Regions from separate parts of the Homo sapiens genome. Here regions 1, 2, 3 and 5 are each linked to region 4. The links are contacts of gene promoters, found by promoter capture Hi-C in human tissues and cell types (Jung and others, 2019). All regions are on one chromosome and are shown on one strand. The core of a region is centred on a gene start or on the middle of the fragment in contact, and the rest is flanking DNA. Distances in the headings are between cores, read along the strand shown.

Region 1 (4,038 bases), core at 1,162-3,661, 160 kb before region 4:
TCAATGTACGCCTCTATCCAGGATAATTGCCATTAAAATAGACATTTCATTTATTTGGAACACAGAGACAAGTCTCTACCTAAATGAATTTTGGATATATACCTCTCAACAAGAGACCTAGAAAGGTTCTTAAGCAAAGACTATATTATTAAGTATATTGAAATTTATACAGCAGTGTAAACATACTGATATCAGTGAGCTTGGTTAGCTTCTAAAGAGCCAAAGCCACAATTAGCCAATAACAGCAGAGAAAATAAATATATGTCAACTTCCAGGAAGTTTAGTACTCATGTGAAGATTCTTTCTATGACCCCTCTTTTAATCCCCTTTCTGGTTTGTAGCCTGCTTTAGTGATTTTAAGGTGAGTTCATGTCACACCTCTTATCAGTTATTTTACGTATATATACAACACACACATACTATATATACATGTAAAATAGATAAAAACTTTATGTGTGTGTATGTTTGTGTGTGATCCTTGGAAATAAACTTTTTATCTTTTTAGGTACCCATAGAATATTTATAAAATAACTCTATATTAGAACAGTTGATTCAAATAAGACACAATTAGAGCTGTAATCAAATACCATTCTCTGATACTAATGCAATACATCTAGAAATGTACAATAAAATAAAAAATTTAATTTTTTTCATTTAAATAATTCTGAACTAAAAAAGAAAATTTCAGAACTGACAATTGTGTAGAATATGAAGATATATGATAACATATGAGACATAGCTAAAGCAGTGTTCAGAGGAAACTTTTAGCCTTCAATATATTAATAATTGAGATCAAATGAAAATAAATAAAGGTCCCAGTCACAAGTATTGAAAAATATCAAAATAAACCTAAACATTACATATTGAAAGAAAAATTTAATATAAAACAGAAACATAAATTTAAAATAGAAAAACAAAAAATAATAAAATTAATAAATTACTTTATTAACTAATTGTTTGAAAAAATGCGAAATTAAATAAACTGTCAGCTATCTTAGTCCAAAAAAGTGGGGGTAGGCACAAATATGGAAACAAATCACAGTATGAAACGGTCACTGTAAAGAGGCAGCCCAATGCACTATATTTCCAAGCAGTACCATCTTTGTATCTAGGGGTAACCACATGACTAATTCTAGCCAATGGCACATGAGCAGAAGCGATATGTGTGTGTAAAAGGATTTGCACCAGCAATTCACAAAAAAGAAGTGCAAATGGTTTTAAAACAATTGAAACAACGCCTAATCTCACTTAATATAAATGTTAATTTAAACTACTACAACAAAATGTACTACTTTTCACCACCCACATTGTCAGATATCAAAACATTTGACAATTGTAAGAATAATTACTAGTAATTATAGAACATGTACTATGTGCCCGGCACTGATGCAAATACTTAACACATCTTTAGTGCTCACAGTAACTCCATGAGGTGAATCTCATTATTACCCCCTTTTACAGATGAAGGAACTAAAGTACAGATAATTTAGTAACTTGCCTATGGGCTCATATGATATTGGCAAGTGTGTGGAAAATGGTCATTTTCATGCACTGCAGTGGAAATGCACATTGCAAAAGGCAACTTGGCTATATCTACTGAAATTACAAATGTGTATATTTTCGACCCAGCAATTCTGTTATGAGGACCATACCTTACAGATCTACTTACTGATTGGGCAATGTTCAGTGTACAAGACATTAACTGCAATGTTGTTTTTAGAAGAAAAGCCTTCAAATAAGAACATTGAGAAGAGTTGGGATGGCTACTCAGGGCTGCAGCTGGTATAAAGCTGTCTCTGTTCTATGGCTGGAGGACACAGAGGAGAGCACACAGCAACACCTGCACTGCAGTATCTCCTGCTAATATCATACTTCATAATGAGAAACCACATACTTTCTCCTTAAGATGGAAAACAAAGAAAGGATGTCTTCTCTCATCAGTCCTATTCAGCATGTACTAAAAGTCCTACTTTGTGCAAAAAAAAAAAAAAAAAGTAACAAAATGTATACAGATTGGGAAAGAAGAAATAAAATGGTCTTTGAAAAAAACACCTATAATCAGGAGCTTTTTGTTGATTCCCAAAAAACCAACAAAAAAAATTATTGATTACAGCAAAGTCACAGCATACAAAGTTAATATATAAAAATCAATTACCTTCCTGTACACCAGCAATGAACCAATTGAAATTTAATATTAAAAATGCAATATCACAATACCACCCTAAAAATGAAATACTTAGGTAAATATGTGTATAATCTATTTGCAGAAAACTATAAAACTCTGATGAAAGAAATACAAGATCTAACTAAATGGAGAGATATTCCATGTTCATGGATTGGAAGATTCAATATAGTTAAGATGTCAATTCTTGATAACACCTGACTTGATCTATAGATCCAATACAGTCCCAATCAAAATTCCAGCAACTTATTTGGTATATATTGTCAGACTAATTCTACAGTTTATAGAGAAAGACAAAAGACCCAGAATAGACACCATGATACTAAAGAAGAACAAAGTTGGAAGACTGACACTACCAGAATTCAAAACTTACTATAAATCCACAGTAATCAAGACAGCGTGGTATTGGTTAAAGAACAGACCCATAGATCAATGGAACAAAATAGAGACCCCTAAAATAGATTCACACAAATTTAGTCAACTAATCTTTGAAAAAGGAGCAAAGGCAATTCAATGGAAAAAGGATAATTTTTTCAACAAATTGTTTTGCAACAATTGAACTTCTAAATGGAAAAAACAAAAAAAGTCTAAGCACTGATTATACCTTTTACAACAATTAACCCAAAATGAATGATAGAACTAAATATGAAATGTAATACTTTAAAACATCTAGAAGAAAACATAGGACAAAAATCTATGTGGCCTTGAGTTTGCTAATGAGTTTTTAGACTCACTAAAAGCATAATTCATTGAAAGAAAGAGTTTAAATTAGACTTTATTAAAATTAAAGGCTTTTACTCTAAAAACGACACTGTGAAGAGATCAAAGATAAGCCATAGACTGGAAGGACTTATTTTTAAGCCATATACCTAATATGGGATTTGTATCCAAAATACATTAAAAACTCTTAAAATTCAACAGTAAGAAAACAATCCCATATTTAAAATGGGCAAAAGATCTGAACAGACATCTCACCAAAAAAGATGGCAAATAAACATATGAAAAGGTGTTTAATATTATTTGTCATTAGAGAATTGCAAAGTAAACCAACATGAAATGACACTGCGTGCCTATTAGAGTGGCTAAAATAGAAAATATTGACAATATTAAGTGCTAGTAAGGTTGTAGAGCAACATGAACTCTCATTCATTGTTGGTGGAAATACAAAATAGTACCACCCCTTTAGAAGAGAGTTTTGCAGGTTTTTCTGTAGAGCTAAACATAGTCTTATTATACAATACAACAGTCACAATCCTAGGCATTCATCCAACTGATTTGAAAACTTATGTCCACATAAAAGCCTGTATGTGAATGTTTACAGCAGCTTTACTCATAATCACTGAAAACTGAAAGCAACCCAAATGTCCTTCAATAGGTAAATAGATAAACTGTGGTACATCAATACAATAGCAATAAACAGGAATAAACAAGCCAAGCAAAACATGTATGGATTAAAAGCACATTGTTAAGCTTATAAAGCCAATTTTAAAAGCCTACATAATATATGATTCCATTTATATGACATTCTGGAAAAGGCAAAACTATAGAGATGGTAAACAGGTCTGTGGTTACCAGGGTTCAGATGAGAGGAAGGATTTGAATAGGTGGAGCTCAGGGAATTATTTTGGGAGTGACTATTATGTATGATGCTGTAATGACAGATAAATAGAACTTGATACAAAGAGTGAACATTAATATACACAAATTAAAAGAAAATTACTTAAGAGGTTGGGAGATCCCATGATGAAATGCAGACTATGAGGAAAAAAAGTCTAATTGTATTACAAATGTGTGAAATACCCTTATTGAAGGGTGCGTTTGGGCAGGGGGAGATGCTGACCTAAGTAACCTTGGAA
Region 2 (4,082 bases), core at 843-3,342, 180 kb before region 4:
GAACATGGGAGGCAGAGGCTGCCATGGGCTGAGATCGTGCCACTGCACTCCCACCTGGGCGACAGAGGGAAACTCAGTCTCAAAAAAAAAAAAAAAAAAGGCCAGGCATGGTGGCTCATGCCTGTAATCCCGGCGATTTGGGAGGCTGAGGTGGTTGGATCATTTGAGGTCACGAGTTTGAGACCAGCCTGGCCAACATGGTGAAACCCCATCTCTACTAAAAATATGAAAATTAGCTGGGCATGGTGGTGCACACCTGTAGTCGCAGCTACTCAGGAGGCTGAGGCAGGAGAATCACTGGAACCCGGGAGGCAGAGGTTGCAATGAGCCAAGATCGGGCCACTGCACTCCAGTCTGGGCAGCAGAGCCAGACTCCATCTCAAAAAACAAACAAAACAAAAAACAAAAAAACCCATGTTTGCAAAGAGATATCTGTACTCCCATGTTCATTGCACATTATTCACAATAGCCAAGATATGGAAACAACTTAAATGTCCTTTGATGGATGAATGCATAAAGAAAATATGGTGTATGTGTACAACAGAATATTATTCAGCCTTAAAAAGGAAGGAAACCCTGCCAATTGTGACAATAAGAATGGAGCTGGAAGGCATTATGCTAAGTGAAATAAGCAAGACACAGAAACAGAAATACTACATGATCTCTCTTATAGATGGAATCTGAAACAGTCAAACTTACAGAAGTGGAGAGCAGAATTGTGGTTGCCAAGGACTGTGGGGGAAGGGGAATGAAGTGATGTTGGTCAAAGGGTACAGAGTTTCTTTTATGCAAAATGAGTTATTTCTAGAGATCTTAGGCTCTGCTTCTGGGGCAATCCAAACTAAGACAGGTATTAAATACAAATTTAAAAGGTTTATCTTTAAAGTCTTGCAATTGAATTGGGAAGATATTTACAATTTTACACAATATTAGGACTCTTAAATCAGCCATATCTTAAAGTGTTTAATTAAGTTTTACCCTCTCATTAGCCATTGACAATAAATCAGTGTAGATTGGTACATCATGGGCCATTTAACATTCCTTGGCATTTATTTGCAACAGCTCATTATTATCCAAAAGTCAGCTGCTGCCAAATTTCCTCTCCAATAGGCAAAGAAATTCCCAGTTGGAAGGTGAGCTGACTACCAACTCAGGCTGCCTGCTTATTGGGTTTCATGCATCCCTCTCCTCCCGCCCTTCCTCAACTGGGCAATCTACAGGACCTCCAAAGTGCCTTCTCCTTGGGGAAGGATGTATATTTCTCCTAAGAGTGGTTCAGAAAGATTAATGCTAAAGAAACTTCCCCAGTTTCTCCCTCTTTATCGATTTCCATCTTCTAAAGATTTCAGCACTTTGAAGCTTAATCAATTTGTATCACAGTTAGTTCCATGTCCATGTTTTGGTCTTTTAGTTCTTTAACGAATTCCTCTCCTTTTGAACATGAAAGAGGCAGATACTTAGCTTTAAGTTTCCATCTGCCTTCAAGTCCCATTTTGTTCAGAGAAATTAATATAATCTGGGGAAAATAAACCTAAAATTATTTGGAAATAGGACTCATGTAATTTCTTATACAGGCAATTTTTTGCTTTGACATCCAGGGAACTTTGAATGTTTGCCTGAGTTCAGCTTGTTTGGAGGTAAGGCATCTAAACTGACCCTAATTTAAGCAAAAGAGGGGTTTATTGAAAATATGCTTGGTAGTTTATAGAACTAAAGAGCTTAATAAACCAGTCTCTGGAAGTATGTAGTCAGGAAAGATTCAGGGATCTCACAGACAGAAATTCCCAGACTTCATCATTACACTGTTACCTTCATACAACTCCAGAACCAACCATCTTACCTCCCTGTGCATTCCCACTCAGATGCTCCCAAGAGAAGGAATTTGGCCTAGTTTGGGCATGTGCTCAACACCTGTGGTCAGTAGAGCAGGAGTGTGGGTTATCCTCTGATGAGTTTCTCTACCAGAAGAGAATATTGGTGGCAGGGCATGAAGGAAAGGGAGGGGGGCCTGCAATTCTCCCAAAGAAAGAGATGCTGGGCAGATGGAAGCCATAGATATCCACTACATTTATTCCTCAGCTATCCATTTGTCCATATCTCCATTCACAGAATTTTACAAATGCTGCCATCTAACATTACAAAATCATACCACGTAAACCTTCAACTGTACTCCTTCCTGAAAGTCTCAGCCAGCTATTGCACCTAGAATCAAGGCCTCCAGGCCCCTGTTCTCCCAGGATAGAATCTCTAAGTGCATCTCATATCTCTTTACCATGTACTATTTCAGTACATGCTGGCCCTGACTTCCAACTGCCAGCACTCTTTGCCTGTAGGCTCTCTCTGGCCACTGGAGACTTCTTTGACCATTTTTGGGGTAGGGAAGGAAATGTCTAAAAGTTATCACCACTTTGGGAGCAGCCCTCAACCAATGACTAAAGGAACTAATAGACAAATATATGTTTTTCCTCACCCTTTCTGGAACTATTGGAAGAACTCTTAGGTGTATATTCTACAGTTTTCCAGAGTGCTTAATCCTTTGGGATTATGCTCCAGTTGCTCACACTGATAATATGCACAGTAGTGTATCCTTTATTGCCTGCACTTTCTCTTCCTCAATCTCATGTTCCCACTGTCCTACTGATACTTCCTAGAGTCACCTCTTAAATGGCATGAACCCAAATTCTTGCCTCAGTGTTTGCTTCTATGTTATTGGGTATTTTTTATTCATCCTCTAGGTCTGCCATAATACCATCTCACAATTTTGTAACCTATGGACTAAAAGATAGATTTCACCATGACTAACTGGTCTTTATGCAGCTGGTCACTATGCCGTAGCTATTATGTGTGAATCCTGCCCATTTGATGTTGTTTTGCCCTTATTCAGTCTTTCAGTCAGTAGGATTCCTTCCAAGTGGAGTAACCAATGTTTCACTCCTGAAAGCCTCTAATTCCTCAGAAGTCCTTCTTTTGCTTTTTCTGTGTCTTTAACAGGACATTCCACCATTTTATGAGGTCAGCTACTTCTGGGTTATAGGGAACATAATGTGATAAGACCAGTGTATCCCATCAGCTCATTGTCTTCCATTTTGCACACTGAGGTGAGTCCCTATTTAGGATAAGTGTAGTATGGAATAGAAGCCATAATAGTGAACAAGGCTCTCAGTACATCCGTGTGTAAGAACAGAAAACTCAGCTCCCAGACGTGTTTATTAATAGTTTGATAAGAAAAATAATGACTGCATGTTCTGTGATGAAAAGGGTCCAGTGGAATTACTGGCTACCAGGTATTCAGTATGGCTTCATGTAAGGGTCTTGAGGATAATTGTTTTGCTGCCACATTGGGGTGTCAGCAGTGGTGGCAAGGGAAAGTTTATTTCGCTATAGCTTCCCTGGTCATGGGCAATGTGAGCAACACCACAGGTGGCTGGGGCAGGTGGATGACTGACATCCAGAGGAGATAAGACCATCCTTGTTTGGTTATTAAAGTATTCTTCTGAAGTGAGGGATTTCTAGTACTATGTATGCAGGATAGAAATATGCTCATATTTTGGACCCACATATGTTTCCTGAACTTCCTTATAGTTCATGTTTGAATCATTCTCTGAGTTCCTAACCTTCACCCAAAAAATTAGCTACTGCCCAACTGTCTGTGTAAATCCTTACAATTGTTTGTCTCTATGTCCAGGACAAGTGGGAAATAATATATACTGTAATCATTAAAGTTCTGCCCACAGAAAAATTTCCCATTTTTTATTATGCTTCAAAGCTACATCTGAGTAGGGCTCTAATACCACTGTAATCCATGGTATATTGTACATAGTCACCTGCATAGTCACCTGTACACAAAGCTCTAATTTTTTCCTCATTAGTTAGCCAATCATAAGGAGCTCCTCATGTGTCCAGGTGCAGATTAAGGGAGGGGAGCAGAGAGACAGGAATAGGGGTTCTGAGCGGGTTTGCAACCCACAACTTCTGAAACTAACCTGCACGTTCAGGACCTGTTGAGGCTTGATCTGGCATGTATCTCTTCCCCTTGATGACAGAGCACGCTGAAGATGCCTCCCTTTATGATGGATTGAATA
Region 3 (4,163 bases), core at 1,266-3,765, 190 kb after region 4:
TAATAACAAATAACTAGTTTTTGTTTTTTTAGGTTTTGTTGTTGTTGTTGTTGTTGTTTCGTTTTGTTTTTGAGACGATGTCGCGCTCTGTCGCCCAGGCTGGAATGCAATGGCGTGATCTCGGCTCACTGCAACCTCCGCCTCCCAGGTTCAAGCGATTCTCCTGCCTCAGCCTCCCGAGTAGCTGGAATTACAGGTGCCCACCACAACACCTGGCTAATTTTTATATTATTAGTAGAGACGGGGTTTCACCATGTTGGTCAGGCTGGTCTCGAACTCCTAACCTCAGGTGATCCACTCACCTCAGCCTCCCAAAGTGCTGGGATTATAGGCATGAGCCACCACACATGGCTCAAATAACTAGTTATAGGCCACTGACACCCAGAATACTACAAGGGAAAAGATTTTTACACAGAGTAATATCAAGGAAAATGCACATGTAATAAATATTAAGGTAACTGTATATATGGTTAACAGTGCAACTACATTTAAAAACTACAGATTTAAAAAGTATATTAAAAGTTCAAATTCTGGCATTGTGAAATACACTAAAAGCAAGCAGAAGACAAGTGATGGCCTAGGAGAAAATACAGTGCAGCAGATATAAAAAGGGTCAGTATCAATATGCGTAAAGAACACCTCAAACCAATAATAAAACCAAACGATCCAATTCATCCCTGAGAGGCCTAAGGAAAAAGGATGGAAAGGAAATGGGCAAGGGCTAGGAATATATCATTCATAGAAGAAAAACATATATACAATAAAACACATGAAAAGCTGTTCCATATCATTTTAAATTATGGAAATAATTATTAAAATTTTATTTTAAAAAAAACAAACTTAGAGGGAAACTTAAAAAACTGAACCAGGTATTGACCAAGGTATGGGGGAGAGTTACTCTCCTGTGTTCTTGGAGAGAACATGCTCTTGGTGGAATGGCCTTCATGGAGGGAAATTTGGCAATGGGATTTAAAACAGGTATTTCTGTGGATCCAGCAATTATACTCATAGAAGCTTATCCTCTAGAAATATCCATGCAGGTAATATATATATTCAAGGTTGATCACTGCTGTAATTTATGAAATACTGAATACTTGGGGACAACATAAATGTCCATCAAAAAGACACAGTTACATTATTATACACTCATTTAGAGGAGATAATCAGCCATTAAAAATAATAAAGCACTGGACACGGTGGCTCAGGACTGTAATCCTGGCACTTTGGAAGGCTGAGGCAGGCAGATCACCTGAGGTCGGGAGTTCGAGACCAGCTGGCCAACACAGTGAAACCCCGTCTCTACTAAAAATACAAAAATAAGCCAGGCATGGCGTTGCACATCTGTAGTCCCAGCTACTCAGGAGGCTGAGGCAGGAGAACTGCTGGAACATGAAAGGTGGGGGTTGCACTCCAGCCTGGGTGACCGAGCAAGACATCGACTCTAAATAAATACATAAATAAATAAATAGCTAGCTGATGTACTAATTAAAAAAAAACTCCAAGAAATACTGTTTTTAAAAAGTTATAAAACAATAAGCCTAGAATTATCCCAACTGAGCTAAAAAAGAAAATTGTAATGACCCCACCACTTGTCTAAAAAGGACAGAAAAGCATACAGGAAAATCACAACCAGTAGGAAGGGTGCTGCCTTAGGGACAAGAACGGCAATAGCAGACACCTTTCATCTTTTTACTCACAACCCTTTGTAAGTGTTTGGATCTTTTATGATCAGGATGTATTTGTGTTATTTGTATACTGCTTTTTTAAAAATGGATAATTTAAAAAAAAAGACATACTCCAAAATGCTAACAGTGGTTGTCCTTAATTGGTAGGGCCATTTTTGCCAACTTTTTCCCCTTTTTATATTTTGGTCATTTCCTAAAATGAGTAAGTACAATTTATTTTGATAATAGGGAAGAAATTTAAGACTAAAATCCTAGCAGTACAGCTTGGATTGAGGAGGTCCAGAGAGATTCCCAATTCATGTGTTTTTGTAGTCAAGGAAATCAGGGCAGTGAAAAATTAGGTTTCTCATTCAAGGTCATACAGATTATAACCTAGGTCTGAAGTGGGTTTTTAAGTATGCCAGAGAGGCCAGGCGCAGTGGCTCATGCCTGTAATCCCAGCACTTTGGGAGGCCGTGGCAGGCAGATCACCCGAGATCACGAGTTCGAGACCAGCCTGGCCAACATGGCAAAACCCCATCTCTACTAAAAATACAAAAATTAGCTGGGCGTGGTGATGGGCGCCTCTAATCCCAGCTACTTGAGAGGATGAGGCAGGAGAATCGCTTGAATCCAGGAGGTGGAGGTTGCAGTGAGCCGAGATTGTGCCACTGTACTCCACCCTGGTCAACAGAGCGAGACTCCATCTCAACAAATAAAAAATAAAATAAAATAAAAATAAAAACTATGCCAGAGATCTCAATTAATTAGTACATACTCCTACAGAGCAGAATTCTCTTACATTACTTCAAATAAAGACCTGCTTTTAAAATTATTTCTCAAACATGTTATAGTTTTTTACACAAGCCAACTGAGTTTGTGGAGCTGGTTTACCTATAAAAACTGGCTGCTGGGAGGATACACATTCCTGGCCAAGTTCAGGTCCACGAGATGAAACTCTTAACTTACAGAGAGAACTGTGCTCCAAGTCATATCGCAGCAGTGCTCAACCCACTGAGAAGCCAAGAGCAACACGCTCTCAGGATGAACTCTCCTAAAACACGGATCAGTTACTAAATCATTAGAGAAACCTAGATATGATTGAAAGTCTGACTCTAGCCAAACTAACCTTCACCTGCATTTATCTCGGGTTGCTGCAGGGAACAGCAACTTTACCAGTAAGGGGTTTCCTTTGCAGGAGATGAAAATGTTTTGGAACCAAATGGACGAGGCTGTATAACACTGTGAGTGTATTAAAATATCACTGAATTGTTCACTTTAATTTCATGTTATGCAAACTTCACCTCGATACATTAAAAAAAATCATCTGTATACATGGCACTAAGAAGATAGATTTTGAAATGAGTTAGCAATTCCTACTGCTCCCCTGACACATTCCACTCACTACTTATACATACACAAATAAGTATAATGATCCCCAACTTAAATGGTTAAACTTAGGATTTTTTGACTTTACAGTGGTACAAAAGTGATATGTATTCCGTAGAAACTGTCAAGTACCCATACAACCCCTCTGCTCTTCACTTCAGTATTCAAGAAACTGCAAGAGATATTCAACACTTCACCATAAAATAGGCTTTGTGTTAGATGCTTTTGCCTAACTACAGGCTAATGTAAGGGTTCTGAGCACATGTGAGGTAGGCGGGGTTAAGCTATGAATTGCCAGTAGGTTAGGTGTATTAAATGCATTTTAGGGGTGTAACTCTGTCATAAGTCAAGGAACATCTGTATTATAAAATGCAGACACTCCTAAGCCTAGAAAAAAAGCTCACATATTCATTCATTCAACAAATTGTGGTTGTATCCCAGGCAATGAGAATGCAGTCCTGCCTCCCTGCAGGAGCTCAGTCCAGACTGAGTGCCCCGCCAAGGAATTCCGCTGTTACACAGGAGGCAGTCAGTAGCCACAAAGAAATGCCAAGAACAGGAGTGCCACAATCAGATGCTAGCACTGGACAGCCATTCTGGGTGCAGCAGGAGAGTGGATGGGTGGGGTAAAGGAATGACCCTTTGGCACACGAGGAGACAGGAGCTGGGCAAAGGTGTTAACAGTGGTCTGGGAAAGACAGTCAGCTTCAGGAGAGAGCAATGATGTGGACTTAATGCCCCCTGAAGATTGTCTGGATGGGAGCTCTGTGGTGAGTACAGCGGGGAGATGCCATCACAGCACAGCAGGGGGCACGGGAGTAAAGTGTCCAGGCTGGGTTTCTCAGCTGGGAAGCTGGGTGGATGGAGGTGCCAGTCCCAAAGAGACTGGCAGGAGGTAGGGGTGGAATGTTTGTAAGCCAATTCAAAATGTGTTTGACCCACAGAAATCATCCAAAAAAGGAAGGTTTACTTTGCCAGGCTAGTCCAGGAAGTTTATTTAACTGTAAATACTACTGACCTAGAAAACCTATGATTTGCACAGGTCCAGCTGTCTGTCCCTGGGGACCTCAGAGCCCAGCTTCCCCCTGCTACCCTCCTGTTGCCCAGCTG
Region 4 (3,826 bases), core at 1,277-3,776:
TCACCCATATGACCTAATCACCTCCCAAAGATCCACCTCCATTACCATTACCTCGGGGGTGAGAATTTCAACATATGAGTTGTTGAGGGACACAAGCATTCAGACTGTAACAGCTGTTTAGGTAGCTACACAGCTAAATAAGTATTATTTTCCAAATCACATTTCAGCGATTTCTCTACCATTAGGCCATGGGCCAGCAATGGAACCTGGCTTATCCTTCTTGTGTTCTTCTTTTCCTGGCACAAATATGGTTGGTAATCTTGCCAAACAGTAATCTCCCTGGTATAGTTAATTTGGCCTGCTAGGTTATATCCAAACGATCACTGTATTCACCTATAAATGCTCTCAAACTGGTCCAAGGTCTAATCAAAGCTGGAAATTGATCAAATAATGACCCATTCATGCATTCTAGAATTCAGCCATTCCCTGTTGCGTTTTTAGAAACTGGCATAATTTTCTATTATTTACGCGATCTAGAGAACTATGTCATAGACCCCTGCATCATAGAACACCCAGATCTGTGGTCTCCATCTCATTCTTCCTGCTTTCTCAAAGATGATCTACACACAGTTCTATTTCCCAGACTATATAATATAATCCACTTTATGTAACATAGTGTAATTCACTTGGCCCTGGTCTCTCAGTTCTTTTGAAGAAATGAATGTTCTCACACTAATTCCTTGGTCTGTTTGTCGATCTTTACAGGCAGGGAGGGAGGATGCGAGGCAGCATTGGGTCGGCTCCACATTCTCCACATCTGCTTATTGTTTTCTTGCCTTGTTTGCAGCTTCCAGAGCTCCTCCCTGCTTCTGTAGCAATTTCAGTCTTCCCCATTCCTCTGTGCCTTTGTAAACAGCCTTTTGTTCACTAACAAGAGGAATCTGCTGCCACGTCAGCTCTAAACCAACCTCCCACCATTCTCTGGGTAAAGTCCTGCTTAGAAAGGGAATAGGAAGAAGAGGGGTGGAGGGGGTTGGAGATGATTGTGTCTAGTGGGAACAGGCAGGGGGATAGTGCACAGAGTTCACAATGGGACAACGAGCCTGCCGAGGCTGCACTGCCGGCCTGGCTGGGTGACCTTGAGCCTATCTGGGCCTGTGAGCTCACCATGCAAAGGAGCTGGACCACAGAATTCTGAGTCCTTTCTAGCTCTAAACACTGTGGCCCTAAGTATCTATATGTGAAACAAAATTGTCCTGACATTTGTCTCTGGGTACTGAACTATTAGGAGATTTTGATTTTTTCATCTCCATTTTGCAAACAGTCTGTACTAAGATTACACTACTGTGTTTCTGTTTTGTGTGTATTCAGAAGCACAAAAAGTCTGTGGTTCTAGAAAGGAAATAGAAAAGTTCTTAAAAAAAAAAAAGTGGGGAAGTGAAACAAATGTTAAAGTCAGAGGAGAAAGAAAGGCCCAACCGGAGGCCCCAAATCCACCCAGAGCCCAGAAGCCCGGGTTTCCCACCGACCGGCTGCGGTCTTTGTCAGCTCTCTGGCGCTATCTGCTGTCCTTCTCGATAACAACCGTTTAATTTGGTTTGCAAAATTGCTCTGACGCAAATCCACCGTGAACACTGACGGGGTCACATTCAGCATAAAAATCGCATTCTGTTTACAGGAAAATCTGGCCCCATACTTGCTCCCATATTCACTTTTGACTTTGCCTTGCAGTACTAACTGTAACAGGGACACCTGAGCAAGTCCCTTCTGTATAAGGCCCAAAATGGTCACCCAATACCAATGAGTCTCTTGCTTTGGAAAGCCCAGGAATGCACCTCCAGCCCCTTCTGCGCAGCGCTCGGACACCATGTAGAGGAGAAGGCACTCTGCAGAACTCGCCCTCAGCCCGCACCACCTGTCCAGGGGACTGGCTGCGTGTCAATGTGTCTCTGCTCCCGGGGTTCCCGCAGATCTTTAACTTATTGGCCTTTGGGCTAATTCAGTCCTTCAAGCATTCCTCGCCCAACATGCCAGGAAGTCTTCTCACGTGTCTTCCACCCCATACCTACCAGTTCTGTTTTCCCACTACCCGATGAAAGTGTAACCGCCCCCCGGCGCCCCCCCCCCCCACCACCACACACACACCCTGTTGGTCCCATCCTCAGGGCGTGGTGGTCCAGGTGAACGCTTGCCCTCTTTTTGAGCTGAACCTCCCCACAGAGGCTGTCAGCAAAGACTGCTTTGCTGTCCAAGGCCGGCCTTTAGGTACAGGACACTATGCATGTCCAGCGAGGCTTGTTGAAGCCACATCTGTCATAGATATTGATGGGAAAAGCATTTTCCTTCTAACACATCTCATTCCAATTCTAAAAGGCACCTCTGAAGCCTTGCTGAACTTCATCAAGATTTTCACGTGGTTTCCTTAGTAAAGTGTGATGAGAAGGTCCATCCTTCTCAGGATGAAGGAGTGGTCCAGGAAGCCCTGATTGGTCTGCCGGGGAGGGAAGGGCTGCCTTATTTGGAGACCTGCAGGAATGCCACCTCCCCCGGCAGCTCCTATATAGCTGGGCGGACCTGGCTGCCAAGAGGGTGTGCTGGGGGACTGTGCAGCTCGAGGCTCCAGAGGCACACTCCAGAGAGAGCCAAGGTACGTGGGGGGCCACTTCTGTGGTCAGGACTGCTGGTTTCTTATCAAGGCTCGATCCCAGATTGAAAATCATGCAATGATTTCTTTACTCCCACACCTGGGGATGGGTCCCAAGTTCAGGGTAGACTTGCGAGGATACCCAGTCATCACTGGGCTTGCCTTTCTCTAAGTTGGTGCTATAATAAAATGCTACTTTAGGGTTTGTGGGTTGGGATTTTGTTTTGCCTTTAAGCTTCTGCCTATGAAAACTAATCTCTTTCTCAAGAATGCTGTGCTTTTATTTTTTTTATTTGACTCACCTGAAATGATCTATTATGCCATTAATCTTATTTAAGATTTCTCCTTAAAAAAGGAATGATGTGGAGTATGGCCCTATTTAGGAGACTAATGAATATTTGCTTCATGCTTGGATCTCTTTGGAGAAAGTCAGTCTGAGTTCACTGTGCTCAGGAGGCAGAGAGAGTGGGGTGAGGGGGTCCAGATGCTCATAGCCACCCTGGGACAAAGACGAGGCGATGTCTACAAGCAAGGAAAGGTCAGTGAGGCCTCTTTGCAGGCTTCTAGAGATGACTGGATGTGCTTCTAGAGATCACTTCAGCTGTGTTTTGCCTTTTTTTTTTAATATAAGGAGCAATGTGGCATCAGAGTTGAACATTTTATCAGAGGAACATTAGCCACTTTTAGGGAAGCTGCAGCAGGGTGGTGGAGGGTGTGTGAGGGGCGAAACAAGCTCCCTGTCAGCCTCCTCCAGCTCTGGGGCCCCATGGCCTCACAGTAAGTCTTTGCCTAGGAGACAGCTTAGGCAAGCTCCGGTATGGGAACTCCTTCCATTTCCCTAATCCACACAGGCAAAGACCCAGGTGCTAGAATGCCCTGACAGTCGGCCTTGGGAAGTGGATTTCCTTGATGGCTATTGTAGATTCAGGAGCCGAATGTGACAGGCAACCTTAAGGTGTGGGGTGAGGGGCTTTTCCATGACATCAGTGGCAGCCCTTCGGATGTCCCAGGGCCACCTTGACCCGGGACCCTCCTGGTGTTCCCCCAGGCCCTCCTGTCTTCCCTTTCATCTCGTTTTCTCCGAAATTCCTCAAGGGCCCTGCCCTTTGCCCTTTGCCCAGCTCAGGGGGCATCATACCCAGTGAGTGAAAAGCACAGTGTGTGAGCACTGTCTTCTCCTGAAACCCAGATGGGCAGTGGGGCATGGCTAGTGGACACATGCAGTGCAGCATTAGACAGAGC
Region 5 (3,999 bases), core at 671-3,170, 160 kb after region 4:
ATTTTCACACACCTTAATTTAATTTGTAAAGTGTAGATAACAATTCTGCTATGGTTCCCTTTTATTTGTACGTCATGTTCTAATACACAGAACAGGATTGAGTATGATGGGTTCGGGCCCATGTCCACCACCTGGGTTTTGAAACCCACGGTGGCCACTTAATTCACTGTATGACTCTGGGCAAATCACATTACGTCGTGGTGCTCAGTGTCCTCTGCTGTTAAATGGGATAACACTAGGATGTGCCTTATCTGATACTATATACAAGTGTTATATAAAGGACTGATGCATAGTAAAAGATCAATAAATACCACCTGTTATTAAATAACTGCAGACTATTTCACAAAACAGAGCAAATGAAAAATTCTCTTATGTGATGACTTATTTTGTTTTAGGAGTTGTACTGGCTGGTTAAATTCCAGAGTAATGGAACCATATACCTACACATAATCAACTCTTAAACATGCTCTGCAGACACATAGAGAATGTGGGCTCTGTGTTACAAAGAGTTCTGTGACTCTAATCATCAGTAATATTATCAAACTCCCCTGTGACTTCATTAACACAAAATGTTAACTTTACTTAAAGGGCAAGGGACATCTTTAATGGATGTGACATTCTGTACAAAAGGACAGGCACTGACTAGCAGGACCCTGGCAGAAACTATGTCCCTCCCCCAACCACCCACCCGTCAGGAGTGCAGAGCTCAGTGTGGCCTGGGGAGAAGAGTCACATCATCAATGGCAACAGACCTTTCCCACGACTTCTCTGGAAATACTCCAGATTCCTGCCACTCTGGAATATTTTTGAGTCTCATGATATAAAAATTTGGCTTCTCAGTATGTCAACTCATGAACATGAGACTTGGCAAGACCTCAAAAGTCAAAAACAAATGGCGCCACTACCTTACCCCACTACCAAAGCTTAAAAACTTACAATCCACCCTCTTCATATTGCTGCTAAGTCTGTCTTTGTAATACGTCAACTATATGTCACTTCCCAAACTCTGGGTCAAAAACCCTTCAACTATTCCCCAGCACGAAGCAAATAAAGTTGAAACTGTCAGACCATTCTTATTATTGAAAAACATTATCTCCTGAAGTCTGTGTGAATGTTCCTAAAGGCTGCCCCGCAGTGGTGGGATGAGGGGAGATGTTTCCACTTACAGCATGGCAATGCCCCAGTGCTTCCCGGCTCTCTCCCCCGCTGCCTGGAAACCAGAGAGGCCAATTAGGGCCACCGTGGGTGTAATGGTCAAGGGACCGATGTACTTCAGTAGAGCCCCAGGCAGGCCGAGGAGGCCGATGACTACTTCTATCAGTGAGGACATGATGATGGCCCCCTGGATCTGCAACAAGAGATGGCACAGACATGAGAGTGAGCTGCTTGTACACTGCACACTCAGAATGTCACCTACAACCACAACTGATAATTCTGCAAGGCAATAAGTTATTACATCATCTAACTTGGGAGAGATAGCTAGAAAATTCCCCAGGACCCGACAAGAAACTTCAGGGGGCACTAACTGGGGCCTGCATTCATGATGCAGGTGTATTACAGAAATAGGTCCTGGACACACGGCCCACATGCCTTTTTCACTGTTAAACGATGCAGGCAAAAATTTATAATTCCCTTTTAAGAAACACAACATTTAAAGACCAGCCTTAGAGGAACACTGCAGCATAAAGACTCTCAGCTTTAAAGAGTGAGCCCCCCAGGACATCGACAAGACAATGTTGTTGACAGAAATTCTAAAGGGATGTTTTTAGTGTGCAGAATGGCCACATCTGTGCTCATTCTGAACTGATGGTGAATTATCTCACACGTTTTGGAAAATATTAATACACTGTCAGCCGTACTTCATGTCTGCTTCTGTTCAATTGCACTTTGGCAGACAAATATCTTTAGTTCTTTCAATGAACACAGGCAAACACTGAGGCCAGAGCGAACAATTCTGCTATCTGTCGATGATGAGCCTCTGTAGCTCCATCCAGTGAGCCACGAACCTCAGCTAGCTGTGCTGGCGGGTGTGAGTGGACAGGTCTGTGGGTGTGCAGGAGGGAGGAAACCATTCCTTAAGGTTGCCCAGAGCATTTCCATATGCTTTATTTTAGAGTATTGCTTAACTACATTTACTTAAACAAGAGAAATAAACTATCAGTAATTGAAAAAGAAAAGAAGGGCTCAGTAAAAGTAACTGCTATTTCTTGGGTCAACCAACATTGAAGCTGAGAAGAAACATGAAGAAGCCAAAAGCAGACAACGCTTGTCTTTTACCTCTCGGATCCGGGGATACCAGATGTGTTCTGTGTGCAACAGCTCTGCTGTTCCATTGGCAACTGAAACATCTTGAAAACAAAAACAAAGTTTTTCTTGGAGTGACACTGATGTCTCACATGACATATTCATTTTACCTTTTAAGAAGAATTTTCTCCCTGTTTTTATTACATCTGTTTCAATCCCCATCCCTAAAATTCAACCTCCAACAGTATAGCTTATCTCACTGAAAGGTGGATCCTCAAATGCTAATTTAACCAAATGAATTCATCGACTAAGAGCTCCCCAAATTGTCAAAAGCTAACTGAAGTGGTGATACACGTTACTAGCACCAGCCTCACACAAAAAAACCAACCTTTGCACACAGCTCATTGAAATGCCCGACAGCAAGGTTGCTGGACTGAGGTTTGAAAAACTTAGATAAAACAGAGGGCCTTTTCCAGTTCCCAGATCAAATCAGTGGTCACAAAGTAACTCCTAGGAGCAAGGAAGGAAATGAAGGCTGGAAAACTTTGCTCCTAGAAGGTCAAAATGTAATTGTATTTTTGAGAGTACAGGTCTGACTCTAATTTTCTTAAATTCCCTATCTTTTCCTGACCTTATCGGGTTCCTTAAGGATCTTTGCAATCACTAAAGAAGGGGAATGAAAGTCATTTGCAGCAAACCACAGTAGCCAGATCCTTAAAAAGCAAAGATGTTTCAGAGAAGGGATGCTGACGCAGCAAAGAGAGTGATTACTGGTGGGTCATAAAATCCACTGAAAGAGAGAGGCAGAAAAATAGCACAAATATTTTTCTATTCCGTTCCCATATTTGTCAATTTCATTAACATAGAGAAATGAGGTCAATTCTGATCCTTTCTTGCTCTAGGGTTAGGGATGAACAAGTGGACAGAAAGAGAGAGACAGACACGATCCACAGATGGAGCATTCTAAGCTGTTTGTGGGTTTGTGTGCTTTGTCCCTAATTCTTGAAAGGATTTAGCGCTGCTGAGGGCAGCACGTCCAGGCCTCCCTTTACACCTGCATTAAAGGACCCCAATGACATATGTGGAAATAACTGCAATTACCTGTGGTGTTACATTTCCATTTATCTAAAGACAGGATGGCTCGAGCAGGGGCCAAAAATGCAAAAGCACTGGCCTGAAACAGGGGTAACCTAAAAGAAACGAGACCAAAACCATGATCACGGCATCGGGAACTACCGAGGTAGTTCACTATTTGACAGCTTAACAGTCTTTTCCATAGACATACAGCACATGAGTAAATGCAGGCACACCTAGAAGAAAAAGCCCCAGTTTGCAAAGGTTTCCTGTGCCATGCAGCCACAGCCAGTGGCTTCTTCATCCTCCCCATTGCCACTCTCCTCCCACCCAGGCAGCTCCAGGGTGGGCCCCGTGGTCAGTGCCAACACCCCAACACCGGCCCCTGCCATCACCACCTTTCCTCTTGCAGGCGGGAGACTGCGGGCATTTGAGGTTCCCTCTTTCCTGCTGAGCTTATAAACTCCTTTTTAAACATCAGTGTATTTCTGCTTTTTTACCTCCCTCCTCCTCCCTTTAAAATTCTTATTGGTTATCACAGGAACAAATTTCCCTCCGTTGTTTCATTTTGTAAATCAAAAACTGCCCTAATCACCGATTACAGATAAATCATAATAGTGATCTAGATCTACAGAGCTGTAAGTTACAACGTGACAGCAGATAAAATAAATATTCTGCTTA

The links. The method cuts DNA at HindIII sites, captures the fragments that hold promoters and counts their contacts. A contact is called where the count stands out against the background at its distance.
Region 1: a contact is called between a fragment that was not itself captured here and the fragment with the promoter of PRND in region 4, in 3 of the 25 tissues and cell types used here (H1 embryonic stem cells, aorta and mesenchymal stem cells).
Region 2: a contact is called between a fragment that was not itself captured here and the fragment with the promoter of PRND in region 4, in 2 of the 25 tissues and cell types used here (aorta and spleen).
Region 3: a contact is called between a fragment that was not itself captured here and the fragment with the promoter of PRND in region 4, in 2 of the 25 tissues and cell types used here (dorsolateral prefrontal cortex and pancreas).
Region 5: a fragment that was not itself captured here is called in contact with the fragment with the promoter of PRND in region 4 in 1 of the 25 tissues and cell types used here (IMR-90 fibroblasts).

What each region holds. Positions count from the first base shown.
Region 1 is chr20:4,555,855-4,559,892 of GRCh38, forward strand. No RefSeq gene overlaps it. Among named protein-coding and RNA genes, the nearest start is that of PRNP, 130 kb to the right of the region's middle. The HindIII fragment of the contact is 5,419 bases long and covers 1-4,038 here.
Region 2 is chr20:4,538,492-4,542,573 of GRCh38, forward strand. No RefSeq gene overlaps it. Among named protein-coding and RNA genes, the nearest start is that of PRNP, 150 kb to the right of the region's middle. The HindIII fragment of the contact is 4,645 bases long and covers 1-4,082 here.
Region 3 is chr20:4,913,574-4,917,736 of GRCh38, forward strand. All of the region lies in intron 3 of SLC23A2 (solute carrier family 23 member 2), which reads right to left. Among named protein-coding and RNA genes, the nearest start is that of SLC23A2, 86 kb to the right of the region's middle. The HindIII fragment of the contact is 4,047 bases long and covers 493-4,163 here.
Region 4 is chr20:4,719,383-4,723,208 of GRCh38, forward strand. It overlaps PRND (prion like protein doppel), which reads left to right and starts at 2,527. Exons shown (of 2, transcript NM_012409.4): 1 at 2,527-2,587. RefSeq lists an enhancer at 1,230-1,449. The HindIII fragment of the contact is 13,371 bases long and covers 1-3,826 here.
Region 5 is chr20:4,882,476-4,886,474 of GRCh38, forward strand. SLC23A2 (solute carrier family 23 member 2) reads right to left here. Exons shown (of 17, transcript NM_005116.6): 7 at 3,346-3,434; 8 at 2,278-2,348; 9 at 1,167-1,348. Among named protein-coding and RNA genes, the nearest start is that of RASSF2, 61 kb to the left of the region's middle. The HindIII fragment of the contact is 6,046 bases long and covers 1-3,999 here.